4 separate regions of the Homo sapiens genome follow, and regions 1, 3 and 4 are each linked to region 2. The links are contacts of gene promoters, found by promoter capture Hi-C in blood cells and fetal thymus (Javierre and others, 2016). All regions are on one chromosome and are shown on one strand. Each heading gives the region's core, a stretch centred on a gene start or on the middle of the fragment in contact. The rest is flanking DNA. Distances are from core to core; before and after follow the strand shown.

Region 1 (2,700 bases), core at 74-2,573, 240 kb before region 2:
CAGATTCTTTCAAATGAAACTTAATTAAATTAATTAACAAATTTAGAGGGTGGGACTTCCAGATGGTGGAGCGAGGATAGTTTTCAACAAATGGTGCTGGCACAATGGGATCTCTATAAGCAAAAAGATAAGTTTAGATCCAGGGGCCGGGTGCAGTGGTGCACGCCTGTAATCCCAGCACTTTGGGAGGCTGTGGCAGGTGGATCACTGGAGGTCAGGAGTTCGCGAGCAGCCTAACATGGTGAAACCCTGTCTCTACTAAATACAAAACAATTAGCCAGGCATGGTGGTGCATGCCTGTCATCCGAGCTACTTGGGAGGCTGAGACAGGAGAATCGCTTGTACCTGGGAGGTGGAGGTTGCAGTCAGCTGAGCTCGCGCCATTGCACTCCAGCCTGGGAAACGAGCGAGACTCCGTCTCAAATAAATAAATAAATAAATAAATAAAGATAATTTAGATGCTTACCTTACACTATACACAGAAGAATGGTTTCCACATGGATCACAGACAAAAGCTACAGACAGAAAATGTCCAAAAGAAAACATACAAGAAAAATTTTAGAAGCTTGGATCAGGTAGCATTCTTAGATGTGGCACCAAAAGCATAATCAATAAAAGAAAAATTTGACAAATTATATTTTTCCTAAATTAAAAAAAAGTTTGTGCTTCAACAGACACCATTAAGAATATAAAAACATAAGCCATCCACTGAGAGAAGATATTTGTATATCATACATCCAATAAAAGACTTGTATCCAGAATATGTAATGAACTCTTGCAACTCAATTAACAAGAAGACAACCCCAGTTTAAAAATGGGCAGATGTGAAGACCTATCTTCAGCAAAGAAGATAGACAGATGGCTAATAAGCATGTGACAAAATGTTCTACATCATTAATCATTAGGGAAATGCAAACCAAAACCCCAATAAGATACAACTCCATGTCTTTTATAATGACTTTTGTAGCAATGCCACCGTGACATGGAGAAGGCTTCCTCCCAAGGTTAGCTTCTACTGCCGAAGCTCCTGACAGTGGTTCTTTAGCGGGATCACAGAAAGGTTTATTACTCACATAGGCAGGAAGTCCTGGGGTAGGGTTAGAGGAGGATAAGAAGTTTTAGAACACGGAGAGTGCATAGCCGGTGTAGTGCACAGGAGTTTTGTCTACTCCTTATGAATGTATGGATAGCCCTAAGACCTTGAGGCAAAGTTTAACATTTGAGAAACTATTACAAATTACATTTGAGGCTGGGTGCGGTGGCTCACACCTGTAATCCCAGCACTTTGGGAGGCCGGGGCAGGTGAATCACTTGAGGTCAGGAGTTCGAGACCATCCTGGCCAACATAGTGAAACCTCGTCTCTACTAAAAATACAAAAATTAGCAGGGTATGGTGGCGGGCGCCTGTAATCCCAGCTACTTGGGAGGCTGAGGCAGGAGAATTGCTTGAGCCCGGGAGGCGGAGTTGCAGTGAGCTGAGATCATGCCACTGCACTCCAGCCTGAGTGACAGAGTGAGACTCTGTCTCAAAAAAAAAAAAAAAAATACATTTGAGAAACTATTGAGTTGAGAAACTATTACAAAACTGACTAAAAATCAGTATCCCTTTGCCTCCAGGAGTTGTGGAGTAATTTCCTATTGCTTATGATTATGAAAGCCGTAGGCACTGTCATCCTGAATCCCATAGTTATACCCCATTCAAATTGCTGTAATGGAGTGAAGCCAGAGCTGGCATCTGATTTAAGATTGTTGGCACTGGGAGTTTATTTAAGATCTTCCTTTCCTCGTTGGAAGATCCACATAGTTCTAGGGAGTGTTGAATCTTTGTTGTACAATTGAAAATACCTCCATTTGTGTTCATGAACTTTGTAGGAACAGCTGCATAGATATTTTATTGCTCTAATGATTTCTAATGAGCCATTTCCTCCTGGGAGATAGCCTCAGCATGCCTTGTAGTGATTCCTCTTCTTCACATGCCGTTGGCCTGGGAGTCTCTAAATTGACACGTGGGAAGTGGGGGTAAAGTGAGCCTTGTTAGGATTGTGCAGGAGGCGACAGACACGGTGGGGAGATGAAGCTTAGAGATTGCTGGCACCAAATCAGACATTCATGGAGGTCCAAGTGCAGCTACTTTGGAAAAGAGTTTGGCAGTTTCTTAAAAAGTTAAACATATGCTGGACATGGTGGCTCACGCCTGTAATCCCAGCACTTTGCTGAGGCCGAGGCGGGTGGATCACCTGAGGTCAGGAGTTTTAGACCAGCCTGGCCAGCATGGCAAAACCCTGCCTCTACTACAAATACAAAAATTAGCAGGATGTGATGGTGGGTGCCTCTAATTCCAGCTACTTGGGAGGCTGAGGCACAAGAATCACTTGAACATGGAAGGCGGAGGTTGCAGTGAGCCAAGATTGCACCACTGCACTCCAGTCTGGGTGACAGAGAGAGGCTCCATCCCCAACTCCAAAAAAAAAAAAAAAAAAAGAGAGGGAAGAAGCACAGAAAGTAATAATGCATGACCTGTAAATCACATGTAGTGAGATGTGTAAAAAGCTGAATACCTAAACACTTGAGATATGAATCTGAAAAGCTGGAAGAGGAAGAAATGAAATTATCATTTTAAATGAAGAAGATAGCATTTTCAACTTGAAATTAAGTAGAAACTGTAAAACTGTAAAAAGCTGTAGTTTGGAAGGTGGTTTG
Region 2 (2,912 bases), core at 386-2,885:
TCTATCCTCCATATGGGTACATTATTTTTATTTATAATTGACTGTAAACACCGCTCCCCCCACAAAATTTCTAAGCTCCCCCCAACTGACTGATTGAACACCTCCACCAAGCGGATTCCAAAGAAACTTGAAAAACTAGTTCAGGCCATGCTGGGAAAGGGAAGTCAGACATGCCTCATTATACTTTCCTCTCTTTGGAGTTCAGGCACAACTGACCAGTATTATTATTAAAACAAGAGATCTTCATACCGACATAACAGACTCTTCTTAGCAATAAGATACCAAAATTCCAACATGACTCTAGTATAGCATCACATGAAAGATAGCAGGCCCTAAATCAAAGCATTTTACCCTAAAATAAATTTCTTTGACACTTTTTGAAATGGCCCTACACAGCCATCTCTTGTGGGGAAAATCTACATTCTATAGAGACTCCCTTTCCCTTTCCAGGTCTTTTCCTGATCCAAGAGATATTTAACTAAGAGTCTGGCATCTTTTTACACATGATAAGAGACATTTGCCAATTATTCTCTCTGAAGCCTGTTACGTATGAGACTTCGTCTACATAATAAGAACCTTGGTCTCCACCTTATCTTAACCCAGACACATTCCTTTCTATTGATTCCAGGTCTTTAGGTCACAACTTAACTCTTTCAACCAACTGCCAATCAGAAAATCTTTGAATCCACCTGTAACCTGGAATCCTTCCCCTTTTTGAGTTGTCCCATCTTTATGGACCAAACTAAGTACACCTTCCATATACCAGTTAATGTCCTTATGTCTCCCTAAAACCATATAATCCCAAGCTGTAGCCCAACCACCTTGGGTACATGTTGTCAGGACCCTGTGGGGTTGTGTCATGGGTCACGGTCCTCACCTTGTGCTCAGAATAAACCTCTTCAAACATTTTACGGAGTTTGGCTTTTTTCGTCAACATGAGCCTCTAACAGTTGGTTACTGGATCATCCTGAGGAATCAAGGCCATAGCACTTAAAGACCCATAAATAATCCTACATGATATTCACTGTGTATTCTATGTAGGTGTAATTTCCAAGCTAAAACATAATTAACCCCACTAATAGACACAACAAACATCCTCTGTATTATCAGCACGCACACAGGGCTTTCTCTGCTGCGAGTGGACTTGTGTCCTTACTTATAATTCTGGAATCTTCTCTAGGGGAGAGGCTGGTCTAATTTCTCTCTATTGACCCAGGGCAGGCAGGAAACAAGGCACACTGTGGAAAGAATGTTTGAATGTTCAGGCTTCTAAGTGACAGAAAAGCAGCTTGTCTGAAAAATGATTTTTTTCTGGCTTCTAACCAGTGTTAATTCACTTGGAAACCAAGGCAGTTTTCTCCCCTTTACTGAACTCTGGATTTCTTTTCCAATCAAGGCCCCTGACACCAAAGAAGGAAATGGAGCGTAAATCAGGCTACAGAGTGGCTGCCATTCATTCGGGAAGCCTTATTGTTTTCCGTCCTTTGTTCCCCTCTAGACCCTTGCCAATCCCCAGGCCGCGAGGCCCTCTGAAGCCCTGAGCCTGGAGCGGTAGGAGACGGGGGAACTGAAACGCCGCGGAACCAGAGGCTGAGGGAGCGGCGCGATGGAGGGAGGAGGAGCGACGGACCGGCAGGCCTAGCTCCGGGGCTGCGGCGGCTGAGGCGCGGGGATGGAGCCCCTGCGGGTGCTGGAGCTATACAGCGGCGTGGGCGGCATGCACCACGCGCTGAGAGGTGAGAGTCCATCTAGCACCCCTCTCTCTATTCGCTCACGGGGGCTGGTTGGAGCACCCGCGCCGGGAAGGGGCGGAGCGGCGAGACGCAAGGGGCGGACACTGTGGGGCGGACACTGTGGGGCGGCCCTCGGTTGTCCTGGAAACAGCTCCTGCGCGCCGCCGTGTCCACCCCTCCAGACGCTGACTCCCTTCTCCTGGCGCCGAGTCTGGCTCGAGGGGCCGCACATGGCGCCTCAAAGGGCCCAGTTGGGAGTCGGGATTCGCAAGGCAGTAAATCAACCTCAAAGGGTATCAAAGGGGCGAGACCCTCGCCTGGTGCCAAGCCCCCATTCTAAGTGTGCAGCCACCGAGAAGCATGGAGACTCGGTCCTTCATCCTGGGGGGCTTCCCAGCTGGGGAGGGAGGGAGTGTCAGGGGCTCCCCTGGTGAGAGATGGATCTTGGAAGGGATAATAGCTACAATTCAAGGTAGAAGTTTGCGAATGCTAAATAGGATGGTAGAGGAAGCTTGAAGAACTTGGACGTCTGATCGTTGGAAAGAAACGTGTCTTCTGTAGTTCTGCGTTTAGATGCCAGAGAACTGAGTTCCAGCTTGGTGGCAGTGTGACGTTGGGCTACTTCGTGAACAGTGATGAACCTGTTTCCTGGTTTTAAAAGAGAATGATTATTATAAGGATTAAAGTCTGTCAAGTGCTTGTTAGTGCCTGATACATTGTAACCACTCCAAATATTATACATTATTATCACTATTACTTTAAAACGACATCACGAGATATTATCAAGCAAACTATTACTTTTATGCACGTCTTTGATTTTGAGGTTTTTGATTTCTTTCATGCTGAGTTGGAACTGAAAGTTTTACTTTTGGTGATATTCACTCAAAATTATTTATTGAGCTCCTATTCTGTGCCAGATTTTGTGCTAGGAGCTGGGGATACAGAATGACAAACAGGCTTTGAAGGTGCATGTTTATTCTTAAATTACTAAGACAACCACCGAACTGAAACTTCCCTGCTTCCTTATTTAGGACCAAGAGTAACAAGAGTAACTGTAAGATACAGACAATATTTAATGGGTTTAGCGTATAAGTTTTTTGAGCAGATTTATTGAGTTTCAATTCTAGACTAGGTTAATGATCATTAAGTTTTTAGTACTTGTTTGCCGGCTATCTTTAT
Region 3 (2,829 bases), core at 104-2,603, 160 kb after region 2:
ATATATGTGTGTGTGTCTCTGTGTGTGTATATATACACACACATATATACACATCATATATGTGTGTGTGTACATACACAGATGATTTTTATTTATTTTTTTTAAAGGAAAATCTCATCTTGGAGCACTTATGAAGTATATAATAGTGGTTCTTAACAGTCATTTCTTTTTCCAGCATGTGAGAATGTGGTAATAGTCAATCAAACCTATGGCATCTTAGAGAGTATAGGGTATCCGAATCCTTATTCTGAAAATCAGCATTGCAACTGGACCATCCGGGCAACAACAGGCAACACTGTGAACTACACATTTTTAGCATTTGACTTGGAACATCACATAAACTGCTCCACAGATTATTTAGAGGTATGTATTATAAAGCTTGATTGATCACTGCTTTTTCAGATCAAGGGAGATGTGTCAAGTTAGAATCCATCATGCTTTTTAGAATAAAATCCCTAACTCTGCCCCACGCATCTATAACACACCAACCACCCATGGTATTTGAACAGGTATATTTCATATTTAATGTATTAAATTGTGAATACAGAGAACTATCTATGTTTTTAGGTTTCAGTGTAACTTCTGGACTCATTGACCTCATATTACTTAACTTACATGGAAGGAGAGTAATAACCTCTATTTTTTGTTGGTTGTTTTTATGTTTGTTCTCTGTGTATAAGAGATCAGAAAATGTTTGGGTATCTTGGATTTATTTAAGATGTCATTTTTCTAGTATGAGGTATCATGGTTTTAATTGTTGTTTTTATTTTTAAATGTAAGTTCATTTCAGTATATTTTTATTTTTGTAAAATTGAAGTTTCAATTGTTATAATCATGACCACTAGTAACATTTATTCAACTGTCTGTATGCAATTTCAGGCAATAAATCTTGCTTAAATATTAGGCAACCTTGAATATAAGGTAATATGTTATTTTTGCAATAAGAAATTTTAACTTAAAAAGCTTTTTGATAACTTGCATATGTAACTTTTAGGGCTACAAATTGGGAGGTTATTTTGGCATCTACGTTTCATCATCAGTAAAATAACTTTTTGAGTCATCTAAGGCATTATCTTTATTTCTGTCTATATTGTTAATATATAATACTTCAAAAAATCCACATATAATGTTTTCACTAGATACCCTTTCTGAAGTGATAAGTACTTGCTCTGATAACAGGACATTTTTTTTCCCACCTGCCCTCCTACCTGCAGCCTAGTGACTTAAGGTAGTTGTTTTTAAGGTGGTCAGTGATTTTTAGAAGTCTTACTTACAAAGACTTCAACATCCATTGCTGGCAACTCTGGGGTCATATTCCCAGGAAAAAATATGTTATTCTTGTAAAATGTTCTTAATTGTGTTTTTACAAGTTGTATAGGAAAACTAGCATTGGTTGAGGTTGGTTGAGGTTAACATATATTTTCCAAATAGCACTTTTGTTTATGAAAACAAAGAGTGACAACAAAGCATTCTGCACTTTGAGAGACTCTGTGAGGTCCTAACTATAAGGAGATTCCCTTGTTTTTCAGAGATAATTTTTTGGGAAAAAATTTTGCCTTATATTTACAAAAGTACAATATTACAGAAATATTAGCCATAGTGTTTACCCATTAGAAAGTTTTGTTTACCAGTATTCTAAGAAAATATGACACAACATGAAACAAACTTACAAGCACGTACTTGGCAATGGTTTTAAAGTCCACCTTCCTTGACCTGGAGTTCAACTGGTCTTCACAAGCTTAATGATACCAGGATGGTATCATTAAGATACTACTAGAATAGGCATCCATTTCTTCACATGGTGAGACCTTGTTTGTGTTTTAGAAAAAGCAGAAAAGTTGCTTTCAAAGCCCTTTGTTTATACCGTGAACACAGCAGTTGGTCATACCTCCTTTTACCAGTTAGGACTATTCTGATTCCCACTGGACTGTGGGCTTCTCGAAGGTCTGTGCTGTCTCCTACTAACTTTGTAACCCAGGCACTTATTATACAGGTGGGACATTACAGGAGTTCAGTAAGTTCAAGTTGAATTGAATATCACAGCCATATTTTAGTATCAGTCTAATGATAACTACTAATGAATGAGAAAGATTGAATTCCAAACTGGCGTTTTTGTACGACCTCCTACACACGCAGTGCAATCCTACAAATTGGAGCACAAACCAAAATAGGACTCATGATCTTGCCGAGCGTTGCACGTATAACAGTGTGCTGGGCACCATAATCGTGATTTGGTAAAGCGTAATGGAGAAAGCCACAGAAAGGAGGATGCTTTTGAATTGGGCTTTAAAGGAGGCTTTGGCAGAAAGAGGGGGGAGGAAAGAGATGAAACATTTCCAGGACCTGAACTCCATTTCTTTCGACTCATTTGAGGATGAAATGGCAACAAAAAGGTGTTTAAAAACTCAAATTAAAAAATGCTTGTTCCAGCAACTGCAGAGTAGCTCATTAGAGCCCCTTATGGATGACGTGTCTGTCATGTTATGGTCATGCCATTTCTCTTGTGCAACATTGACGGTGAAAGAGCAAAAATACAAAATGAGAACCAGAAGTTCAGAAAGGCCTTCCAAAAAAACGGCGCTGTTGCCAGAGGGAGGAGATTGTTTTCCATCTCTGTGAGCCAAGAGGCCAGACCAGAGCAATAGCTGCAATAGCTGGTCTATGATGGAAATTTTAACACACAAACAACCATTTACAGAGAGAAAACTCACACACACAGAAATCTAGCTTCCATTATTTTAATCGCTTCTGGGTTTTTTCAGCTGACTTCCCCAAATCCCAACTGGATGCCTGTTACTAGAGCCAGAATTTAGTTATTCTGAATTAATA
Region 4 (2,700 bases), core at 50-2,549, 230 kb after region 2:
GATGAGGCCATTAACTGAGTAAAGGGAGTAGATGATAGTGAGTTTGACTTGTAAACTTTTGGGTTTAAATATTATATAGTTTGACATAAGAGTTCAGAGCTTGGGATAGGATCTGAGCTAGACATATACAATTGAGGATAATTTCTGTATATTGGGTGGTTATTAAAGTTGTGGGAGTAGGTATGATCACTTTTAGGAGTATTTTACCAAGAGAAAGGGGCCAAGCCAACTCCTGGGGAAACACTGCCATGTAACGGGTGGATGAAAGATCAGAGGAGAGGAGGCTGAGGAGGTGCGCTGAGTGCTTGGTGGAGAACCAGAAGAGAGTGGTAGCATTCAAACCACGAGGGAAGCTGAATTTCAAGGGTGGGTGATCAAAGGTATCAAATCCCATGCAGGATGCCAACGAGCGTGAGGATTGCAACAAAGCCCCTGGATTCCGTCTTTAATAACCTGCAAGGAGCAGGATTGTGGCGGGTGGTGGTGGAAGACTCAAGGTCACAGTGGTTAGGAGGTGCAGGAGCTTCTGAGCTTTTCCCCAGAGTTACGGAAATGAGTGGCATAAGGAGAAAATGGGCAGTAACCAATGGGTTAACCAAAATCAGTGGAGAGTTGGTTTTTTAAAAAAAATGGAGAAATATAAGTTGTGTGAAGAGGGCAGGTGGAAAAAGAGCAGCTGAATGTGAGAGCCAGGCGAACAGTAGAGAAAATCATGTTTTCAGGACAGAGACACCAAGAAGCGCCAGATTGGTTCTATGAATGTTGTACTTTTTAGAATAAGAAATTGAAACCCATGGCTTGGCACAAGATTTTTCTGATTTATAAATTCATTATGTTAAAAATTGCATAAATTGTATACAAACTAAGTCATTTTTTCTTGGATGATTTATAAATCAACTTTACAAAAAGATAAGGAAGTTTTAAAAGAAAACAAGACTGTCCAGGTAAGTTGGGGTAGAGATCTGCTATATATTTGCCAAATGTGCCCACTTAAGGGGACAGGAGGTCTGCAGAGGTTTGGAACCAGACCAGGCAATGCCCTGGCAAGGCTGGAAGCTTGTTAGTTAGTTGTCCAGGGATTCATGAAGGCCGGAGTTGAAGCACCAGCCCTCTATCTTTACAGCCAGATGGACACTGGACGGGAAACGTACCCCAAAGTCCAACATCTTACATAATATCTCTGCAGTCTCAGTTCATATAAAGCCAATCCTTCATTTTGGAGACATTCAAGTTAATGTCCTGGTCCTGTTGCTTAGACAGAGTTATTAGCAAAGAGAAAAATATTCAGTTGCCAGTGATGCTGTCAGATAATGTTGGGGTTCAGGAGATTTTTAACAGAGTTCAAGTGTACTCTTTAAATACCAGTGAAAATTATGCTGGAATGGGACCAGCCATCCTGTTTTTTCAAAACTTCTATAACAATTTGGGTTGTTAGAAGAAGAAATAGTAATTTAGCTGTATGTTAAATATGATTTCACATATGATTAACTGTCATAAACCTATAGATACATAGAATGTTAAGGTTGGAAGAAGAAAGCTTAGAGTTCGTTTGCTGTTGTCACCTAATTTTTTAAAAAAAGACATTGAGGTGGAGGTGGGGCAGTGCAAAAAATAAAAATTAATTAAAAAATAAAAAAGATACTGAGATCCAGAAATGTCAGGGTCAAGGCTAAGTAGAAATTAACAGCAGGATCAGCACTAAAACGAAAGCCTTATGCTTCCTACGAAGTGAATAAGTATTTTGGTAAAATATAAAAATTGCAGTTATGTACAGGATACGGAATGGCAGACTAGAAAAATAGAGGGAGAAAATAAATTTAGGGTCAGGCTGGAGCCACTTTGATTTTTTTTTTTTTTTTGAGATGGAGTTTCACTCTTGTTGCCCAGGCTGGAGTGCAAAGGTGTGATCTCAGCTCACTGCGACCTCCACCTCCCAGGTTCAAGCAATTCTCCTGCCTCAGCCTCCCAAGTAGCTGGGATTACAGGCATGTGCCACCATGCCCGGCTAATATTTTGTGTTTTTAGTGGAGATGGGGTTTCACCATGTTGGCCAGGCTGGTTTTGAACTTCTGACCTCAGGTGATCCACCCGCCTCGGCCTCTGATTACAGGTGTGAATGCTGGGATTATAGGCGTGAGCCACCGTGCCCAGCCCACTTTCACTTCTATATCTGATAAGCCCAGCCTTCATTTGTCAATAGAAGGAAAAGTGTTAAGAATTCAAATATGAAATGGAAAGTGTCCTTGCTTTGAAGTCAGGAGGTCAGGGTTTCCTTCATTACTTTCCCCTTCGGTGCCAAATATGTACCAGACACTGCCAGGTGCTTGTTTCTGGACGTGTACCACCCCTCACCCTCTTCATGGCTTGGGGTTCTTAGTTTGCTTATTTAGAAAATCAGGTGCCTGGGGAACAGAAGCAGAAAGAAGAAAACTAAGGAAGAGGATTCAGTTAGGAGTTGCATTTGTGGGTAAGAAAAGGAGGACAAGATGGCAGATGAAATGGCCACTGAGGGCCCAGTGACGTCAGTGGTGGTTTCATCCTCAAAGTTGAAGTCAACCTCAGGCAGCCACCAGGCTTCACATGATCTCTGGGTTACAAGACTATCCCCATACTCTTCTGGGAATACAATAGAAAGCTCTTCTTAGAGTAGGCCTAGTCCCTATAGGTTCCAAATTGAGGCAAGCTAAGCCCACATGTAAC

The links. The method cuts DNA at HindIII sites, captures the fragments that hold promoters and counts their contacts. A CHiCAGO score of 5 or more calls a contact.
Region 1: a contact is called between a fragment that was not itself captured here and the fragment with the promoter of TRDMT1 in region 2, in 1 of 17 cell types (naive CD8 T cells). The highest score is 5.4, in naive CD8 T cells.
Region 3: a contact is called between a fragment that was not itself captured here and the fragment with the promoter of TRDMT1 in region 2, in 13 of 17 cell types (M0 macrophages, M1 macrophages, M2 macrophages and 10 more). The highest score is 17.2, in M0 macrophages.
Region 4: a contact is called between a fragment that was not itself captured here and the fragment with the promoter of TRDMT1 in region 2, in 10 of 17 cell types (activated CD4 T cells, M1 macrophages, M0 macrophages and 7 more). The highest score is 16.0, in activated CD4 T cells.

Annotation. Positions count from the first base shown.
Region 1 is chr10:17,439,053-17,441,752 of GRCh38, reverse strand. All of the region lies in intron 2 of ST8SIA6 (ST8 alpha-N-acetyl-neuraminide alpha-2,8-sialyltransferase 6), which reads left to right. It overlaps LOC105376436 (a long non-coding RNA gene), which reads right to left. Exons shown (of 4, transcript XR_007062074.1): 2 at 467-515. Among named protein-coding and RNA genes, the nearest start is that of ST8SIA6, 14 kb to the left of the region's middle. The HindIII fragment of the contact is 1,512 bases long and covers 568-2,079 here.
Region 2 is chr10:17,200,395-17,203,306 of GRCh38, reverse strand. It overlaps TRDMT1 (tRNA aspartic acid methyltransferase 1), which reads left to right and starts at 1,635. Exons shown (of 11, transcript NM_004412.7): 1 at 1,635-1,736. The coding sequence starts at 1,673. RefSeq lists a silencer at 1,938-1,997. The HindIII fragment of the contact is 5,194 bases long and covers 1-2,246 here.
Region 3 is chr10:17,038,567-17,041,395 of GRCh38, reverse strand. CUBN (cubilin) reads left to right here. Exons shown (of 67, transcript NM_001081.4): 27 at 176-363. Among named protein-coding and RNA genes, the nearest start is that of CUBN, 90 kb to the left of the region's middle. The HindIII fragment of the contact is 775 bases long and covers 966-1,740 here.
Region 4 is chr10:16,969,736-16,972,435 of GRCh38, reverse strand. All of the region lies in intron 31 of CUBN (cubilin), which reads left to right. Among named protein-coding and RNA genes, the nearest start is that of RSU1, 150 kb to the right of the region's middle. The HindIII fragment of the contact is 481 bases long and covers 1,059-1,539 here.